Regions from separate parts of the Homo sapiens genome. Here region 1 is linked to region 2. Evidence: promoter capture Hi-C in human tissues and cell types (Jung and others, 2019). All regions are on one chromosome and are shown on one strand. Each heading gives the region's core, a stretch centred on a gene start or on the middle of the fragment in contact. The rest is flanking DNA. Distances are from core to core; before and after follow the strand shown.

What was found. Contacts are between HindIII fragments. The study calls those that stand out against the background at their distance.
Region 1: a fragment that was not itself captured here is called in contact with the fragment with the promoter of KLLN in region 2 in 1 of the 25 tissues and cell types used here (IMR-90 fibroblasts).

Annotation. Positions count from the first base shown.
Region 1 is chr10:87,542,550-87,546,748 of GRCh38, reverse strand. The region is part of intron 4 of MINPP1 (multiple inositol-polyphosphate phosphatase 1); the gene reads right to left. Among named protein-coding and RNA genes, the nearest start is that of MINPP1, 40 kb to the right of the region's middle. The HindIII fragment of the contact is 4,515 bases long and covers 79-4,199 here.
Region 2 is chr10:87,862,274-87,865,988 of GRCh38, reverse strand. It overlaps KLLN (killin, p53 regulated DNA replication inhibitor), which reads left to right and starts at 2,456. Exons shown (of 1, transcript NM_001126049.2): 1 at 2,456-3,715. The coding sequence starts at 3,502. It overlaps MLDHR (mitochondrial lactate dehydrogenase regulator), which reads right to left and starts at 2,430. Exons shown (of 1, transcript NM_001433720.1): 1 at 2,335-2,430. The coding sequence starts at 2,430. The coding sequence ends at 2,335. It overlaps PTEN (phosphatase and tensin homolog), which reads right to left and starts at 2,364. Exons shown (of 9, transcript NM_000314.8): 1 at 1,441-2,364. The coding sequence starts at 1,519. RefSeq lists silencers at 2,070-2,209, 2,300-2,609 and enhancers at 3,210-3,389, 3,640-3,715. The HindIII fragment of the contact is 9,209 bases long and covers 1-3,715 here.

The DNA of each region.
Region 1 (4,199 bases), core at 1,087-3,586, 320 kb after region 2:
TAGCTTGTTGCCCAAGCTGGTCTTGAACTCCTGGCCCCAAGTGATGCTCTCACCTCGGCCTCCCAAAGTGCTGGGATCATAGGTGTGAACCACCACACCTAGCTGATTGTTTCTTAAATAAGGCATCAATTCTTTTCCAACGCAAAGGCGAAGACCACATTTCTCAGGTTTTTCATCTGAAATGAACGTGCAATAAGAAAAAAATATTCAGTGAAAAGCACAGTTCTATAAAAAGCTGATTGAGATAATTCGGCAGAACGTGTTTCTCAAGACACAGGTCACAAGGACCCTGCTGATAAAACAGGATGTGGTAAAGAAGCCAGCCACAACCAGCCAGAATCAAGAGGGCAAAGACAGTGACCTCTGCTCATCCTCAATGATCCTCACTGCTCATTATGTGCTAACTAGAATACACTAGCATGCTAAAAGACACTCCCATCTGTGCCGTGACAGTTTACAGATGCCACGGCAACTCCTGGAAGTTACCCTATAAGGTCTAAAAAGGGAAGGAACTCTTGGTCCTGACAATTCCCTACCCTTTCCCAGAAAACTCATGAATAATCCACTCCTTGTTTAGCATACGATTAATTTATGCTATTATTTATTAATAACCATAAAAAATAGCCAACCAGCAGCCCTCAAGGCTACTCTGCCTATGTGGCAGCCTCCCTTTTATTCCTTTACTTTTTAATAAACTTGCTTTCGCTCTAGTCTTTTGGCTCACTCTTGAATTCTTGCCTCCGTGAAGCCAAGAACCATGTGGCCTCCGGGGCTGAATCCCAATTTTGCCCCACGACATGATCACTAATGATGTAAGCCTCTAAGCAGATGAACAAAGACAAGGGTGTATGCATCTAAATTTTTACTCTTGCTTAGAAGAAAGAGAATATGTCAATAAATGACAACTTTTAGTCATAAAACCAGTATCTGGGCCAAATCTCCAATCAGTAATTAATAGCTATTTGGAACACTGCATTGAGAAGGATTCTGAGGTTGTATCCAGACTCGATGTGATCTATTTCATGCTTCTTACACATTCTACTCTCAATTCATGAACCTCCTCTCCTTGCCAATCTCTCCATCTTTACCTTTGATTTCCTAGATATAACTAAAATGAGTTTGGTCATTTCTAAGACACTGGATTATAAGACATATTAAAAGAAGATATTTTAAGTTAGTATTATGTCCAGGTAAGGTTTCTTAAGAATAAATTTTTTAAAAAGAAAACAAAGTTAATTTTATGATGCTGCATATTTTTTTTTGCTTGACAATATCACTACTGGTGAAGTATAACACAAACATGTATAAAACATATAATCACCTAAAACAAATTATCACTTCAAGACATATGTATAAATCACTCCTAAATGTATGTACACAAATCTTTACTAGATACAGGTAAGAATATACTTGGTTTGGTTTATGTCTTTTTTAAAAAAAAAGTCAAGAAAGCTTGAATATTAAAAATCCCACTTAGAGAAATTTTATCTCAGAGAAAAACAACTTATAAAATAGAAAAAACTGCCATAATAATTCATATAATATGCTATCAACATGAAACCCTAAGGAGGTTTCCTGAAACCTTAAGGAGGACATAGGGTTCATAAAACTGAAACCCTAAGGAGGACTTAAAATTACATTTTAGCAACTACATGTTTTATACAATTTTTAAAATCTGACTTTATTCTTGATTTTCCCATTTCAAAAACAGAATTCACTAAATGTCTAGGTTGAGGTTTCAAGGGTAAGAATTACACACACTCTTAAATAAGTTGCAACAACTAAAAGAATGTTAAGTATTTTTTGCTTTATCTCAAAAGTATTTCCATTACATAACATCTCAGAATATAAATCACTAAAATCTCAAACATAAATGTTTTTCTTTGCTATTTTGTTTTTCTCAGCCTGAATTCAACTTAGTAACCTTTAATGGTTCAAGGGCAAACTAGAATAAAGATAATAAAGATTACTTTGTAAAGTATTACTATTCATAAATAAAGTAATCTTTATTATTATCTTTATTCCTCTAGGCTCCGTAAGAAAGGAGAGAGGCTTCTTTCTTAAGGTTCCAATGATATTGTGAAATATAATATATATTTGGTCTTTGTTCCTGTTTCCTGGTACAAAACTCCTAAAATCCTTGAAATCTCCAAAGTGCTGTCTTTTTGCATGCTCATGTTGATTGATAGCTTCAGGATGGAGCTGGTCAGCAAAAAGGCAAAGGCATGATTACAGGGTTAGCATTTTCAAGCCCATCCCTCAACCTCAGGGAAGAGCAAGAGGGGCTGAAGGTCAAGTTGATCACCAATGGCCAATAGTTTAATTAATCATGTCTAAGTAATGAGGCCTCCATAAGAACCCAAGAGGACAGGGTTTGGAGAGCTTATGGACAGCTGAAAATGTGGAGGTTCCTGGAGGGCGGTGTGGCCCTGGGAGGGCATGGAAGCTCCACATCCTTTCCCCCATACCTCATTTTATGTGTCATTTGTATCCTCTGTAATATTTTATACTAAACTGGTAAACATGTTTTCCTGAGCTCTGTGAGCCACTCCTGGAAATTAAGTGAACCCAAAGAGGGGGCTGTGAAAACCCCAACTTGAAGCCAGTCAGTCAGGTGTTCCAGAGGCCCAGACTTATGACTGGTGTCTGAAAAGGGCAGGGGGCAATCTTGGGGATTGAGTCCTCAACTTGTAAGATCTGATGCTACATCCAGGCAGATAGTGTCAAAATTAGAGGATACCTAGCTGGTGTCTGCTGCTTATTGGTGGGGAACCCCCATCCCCCAACACTGGGTCACAGAAGTTGATATAGTTTGGATGTTTGTCTCCTCCAAATCTCATGCTGAAAAGTGATCCCCAATGTTGAAGGCGGGACCTAGTGGGAGGTACTGAATCATGGGGATGGATCCCTCTTGAATGGCTTAGTGCCATCCCCTTGGTGATGAGTGACTTCTCAGTTCACATGAAATCTGGTTGTTTAAGAGTCTGGGGCCTCCCCCTTCTCTCATAAAACTAACTTTGTTTTCTTTTTAAAAAATTTATTTTTAAGAAACCTTACCTGGACATAATACTAACTTAAAACATCTTCTTTTAATATGTCTTATAATCCAGTGTCTTAGAAATGACCAAACTCATTTTAGTGATCATAGCTCACTGCAACCTTGACCCCTCAGACTCAAACAGTCCTCCCGCCTCTGCCCCTGAGTAGCTGGGACTACAGGCATGCACCACCACACCCAGCTAATTATTTTATTTTTTGTAGAGATGAGGTCTCACTTTCTTGCCCAGAGTGGTCTTGAACTCCTGGGCCCAAGTGATCCTCCTTCCTTGACCTCCCAAAGTTCTGGAATTAACAGGCATGAGCTACTGTGCCCTGGCCATGATAACCTCTTTTTCAGGTGGTTGCTCCACAGCCTGCTAGGATTCTTCTCCTGAAAATACTTTTTCTTTCTCTACCACATGGCTTGACTGAAAATTTTCCAAACTTTTACACTCTGCTTCCCTTTTGTATATAAGTTCTAACTTTAAGTCATTTCTTTGCTCCCATATTAGATCATAGGCTGTTAGAAGCAGCCAGGCCACATCTTGAATGAGGAAAAACTGATGAGGGTATCCCTAGGGCACACAGTACAGCCAGGTTCTTTGCTAGGATGTGACAGGGGTAACATTTGCTCTAGTTCCCAATAACATCCTCACTTCCATCTGGAACCTCATCAGCCTAGACTTCACTGTTCATATCGCTATCAGCATTTTGTTCACAACCATTTAACCAGTCTCTCAGAAGTTCCAAATTTTTCTTCATCTTCCTGTCTTCTTTGCCCTCCAAACTCTTCCAGCCTTTGCCTTTTACCCAGTTCCAAAGCTACTTCCACATCTTCAGGTATCTTTATAGCAGTGCCCCATGCCTTGGTACCAATTTTGTGTTAGTCCGTTTCTGCAATGCTATAAAGAAATACCTGAGACTGGGTAATTTATAAAGAAAACAAGTGTATTTTGGCTTACGGTTCTGCAGGCTGTACAGGAAGCGTGGCTCTAGCATCTGCTTCTGGGGAGGGCCTCAGGAGGCTTACAATCATGACGGAAGGCAAGGGGGAAGCAGGTTTCACATGGCAAGAAGGAAACTGTTTTGAAGCTTTAAGATTTAAAGACTGGCTTGGCAGAGTGGGTCACACCTGTAATCCTAGCACTTTGGGAGGCTGA
Region 2 (3,715 bases), core at 1,207-3,706:
CCAAACTCATATTACCAAATTTTAGGCCTTGATAGAGCCTAAATGCTTCAGTCACTTCAGACCAATAACTTAATTCTGTTTTCACATACCTTATACACTGGCCTACCAATAGCTCTCAATTCCTGTCAATACTTTCCCCATTCTGCAAAAAGAGGGCCCCATCCCCATCCCTAATCAAAACCAATGTGTTGTACCTGAAACTGCAAAGATTAATGCTTTTCGATGACCACTAACTTTTGAAGCCCGAAGGCCTAACTTTTAGACAACTAAAGCTACACACTGTTAAAATTCTTGGGCTTCTGTCTTATTCAGCAAGCTGACTCAGTAAATTTAATACACTGTATGAAAAAAGCTAACATACCTACAATCTAAAGCTGGAGTAAACCCCTCTTGCCAGCATTTCTAGATATTAGCTGGTAAAATACAACTGACATTCTACACAAATCAGTAAAATTAACGATACCAAAAGGTGTCAGAGGACCTGAAACCTAAAAACGGTGAGCAGCAATTCTGGCATCACAACAATACTTAAATTTCAAGCATGAACTGAAGTTTTATTTCTGCAATCTTCACTTGCTACACACAATACCCTTGAACCTACACATTACCATCTGGGATCAGAAACTACTCAATATCCATTCTATGTTTATGACAAGAGCACTGAACATTAAATGCTACTGAAGTGCAAATTTCAAGCACTATCCTACATCACCCCATAGGGAGAGAAAAAGGTAAATATAACAAAGATCTAGTAAGAACGCCTTATAAGGTATATTATGGCACTATTGACTTCAAACTACAAAACTTCTACATACAGTTCAAAGTTGTAGGTAACTTAAGTTTAAACATTAACAAAACTACTTTTTGCCCTCAATGTGCACCATATATACTGAAAATGATTCTGCTTCTAAAGTTATGCAAATCAGTCATATTTTAAAAGAATCTATCAATGCAACTCAGGAAACTAAAACAATCACTGCAAGATTCTGATGCAATATGCGTACGTGCAACACTAATTTTCATTTTATTCTGATCTAAACCCTTGATCTAGGGCCTAAGCCAAGATTTAATCGAAATATGCTCAACCTCAAAAAGCGTCTACTTTTTTGTTCATTTAGGAGACCGGATTACCGAGCTCGCTAATCCACTAACAGTGTACTGTATTCTGTATTAACGGACAATAGCCCTCAGGAAGAGACCATATAGATAGCCTAAGAAAGCAATCGGTGGCTTGACACTTGCAACCAGGCAAGAGTTCCGTCTAGCCAAACACACCCTAGGTTGAATACACAGAAAGGAAACACAAAATATATGACCTAGCAACCTGACCAGGGTTAAATGTTATAGTCACCCAAACTACGGACATTTTCGCATCCGTCTACTCCCACGTTCTAAGAGAGTGACAGAAAGGTAAAGAGGAGCAGCCGCAGAAATGGATACAGGTCAAGTCTAAGTCGAATCCATCCTCTTGATATCTCCTTTTGTTTCTGCTAACGATCTCTTTGATGATGGCTGTCATGTCTGGGAGCCTGTGGCTGAAGAAAAAGGAGGAGAGAGATGGCAGAAGCTGCTGGTGGCGGGGCTTCTTCTGCAGGATGGAAATGGCTCTGGACTTGGCGGTAGCTGATGCCCCTCGCTCTGCCGCCGCTTGGCTCTGGACCGCAGCCGGGTAATGGCTGCTGCGGCGGCTGCTGGATGGTTGCAGCGACTGGGCCTGCTTCTCCTCAGCAGCCAGAGGCCTGGCAGCGGCGGCAGCGGAATGGGGAGAAGACGAATAATCCTCCGAACGGCTGCCTCCGCCGGCGGCCTCCGGAGCCCGGGCCACGGGGGGTGCGGCGGCGGCGCACGGGAGGTTTAAAACCGGCCCGGGTCCCTGGATGTGCCAGCCGCCGCCGCCGCCGTGTTGGAGGCAGTAGAAGGGGAGAGACCAACTCTCCGGCGTTCCCAGCCCTGGAAATGGTGACAGGCGACTCAGACCCCCTCCCTGGAGCTGCAGCCGCCGCGGCCGCCGCCGCCGCCGCTTCTCCCCCCCGCTCCAGGAGCGGGAGGTGCCGCCGCCGCCGCCGCGCCTCAGCCGGCTCCCGCCCGAGCCCACGGCTTCCACCTTCCCTTTCAGGAGAAGCCGAGGAAGAGGCTGCACGGTTAGAAAAGACGAAGAGGAGGCGAGAAACGCCGCCGCTGCCGCCGCCGCAGGCCGGCCGGCTCCCCGAGGGCGCTGCCCCCGCGGCTGCTCACAGGCGCTGAGAGGGGCTCCGGGCCGCGGCCGCCGCCGTCTCTCATCTCCCTCGCCTGAGCCCGGCCTCGCCTCACAGCGGCTCAACTCTCAAACTTCCATCATGGCTGCAGCTTCCGAGAGGAGAGAACTGAGCGCAGTCGCGTCCCAGCGCCGAGCGCGTATCCTGCCGCAGCGCATAAAGAGTCCCGCCACATCACCGCCCGCCGGCCTGCCCGCCCCCTCCGCCGCCGCGCCGGGAGCCCGGGCGCCTCGGAAGACCGAGGGGAGGCGGGAGGCGAGCGAGAGGCGGACGGGACCGCGCCGGGCGAGGGGAGGGCAGGGCAGGGCAGGGGGCGGTAGGAGGGGGCAGAGCGGTAGCTCTGGGTGCGAGCGCAGAGTCCCCAAGCCGCAGGCTCTACTGAGCATGCCCAGTGTAGCTGCCTGGGGCTTGCTCGGGCCGGTTCCCAGCCGCCAGCCTGCAGCTGCACTTGCTGCGGCTTTTGCAGCAACGCGAGGCGAGGATAACGAGCTAAGCCTCGGCCTCTGCCCAGAAACCCAGCCGGAGGCAGGGTAGGCTGTTGTGGGGCGGGGGTGGAGGACTGATGATGAAAGCTGAGATGGGTGCGTTGAGCAGTGTCACTGACTCGAGTCTGAGGTTACCTGTGCACAGGTGAAAAGGACCAGGTGACCACGCTGCTCAGTGTAGAGGGAAATGCAGGGACGGTCCCTGCAAGGGGAATACCCTCCCCCCTTGCCTCTACCCCTAGATTTCCGCGGCGTGGACTGCATTCGCTCTTTCCTTTTGCACCGCTGTCGGATCACAATCGTTCGCAGAGATTTGACTGTAACAGCCTTTGCCTAGAGATTCCCCCTTCCCCCAAATCTGTGTCCTCATGGTGTCAGTCTTAGCACAAAGAGCAACCTGCTATTGTGTCGCCAGCGTGTATCACCTCATCCGGCTCCCTTGCAGCGCCCCACCTCTCGCTTCCCCGGTAACTCGGCTCGTTTGCCCTAAAAATGAAAGCTCTCAGCCGAGCGTGCTGAACGTGAACACATAGCCGTTGAATTTCAAGGGCCCAAAGGGCACCTATCTAAATGAACTGAAAGAGGATCCCTGTGAGTGGGACGCACCCCGCAGGCCTCTCCTGCGCCCGCTCCGGTGCCCCCAAGAGAGTCGAGCATCTTTCCCCTCGGGCTCCAGGTCGGTTCGCGGCGTCGGAGTCAAGCTCGGTTCTCAGAGACCACCTAGCCCCGCCCCCCCTTGGCCGCCGTGAAAACCCGGCAGGATGGATCGCCCGGGGCCAGGCTCCGCGCGCCCCGGCCGGACCGTGCACGTTTGGGGTTACCGGGTTGAGTGGAAAGTACGGAACGGTAGGAAGCTGCAGCCCAGCGAGTGGGCGGGGCGAGGAGACCTAGGAGGGTTCAAAAGGAGGTGGAAGGATACACGGGCCACAGTCGGAACTACTTTCCGAAGGAGGTCACGTGTGTCCCTAGTTGGGG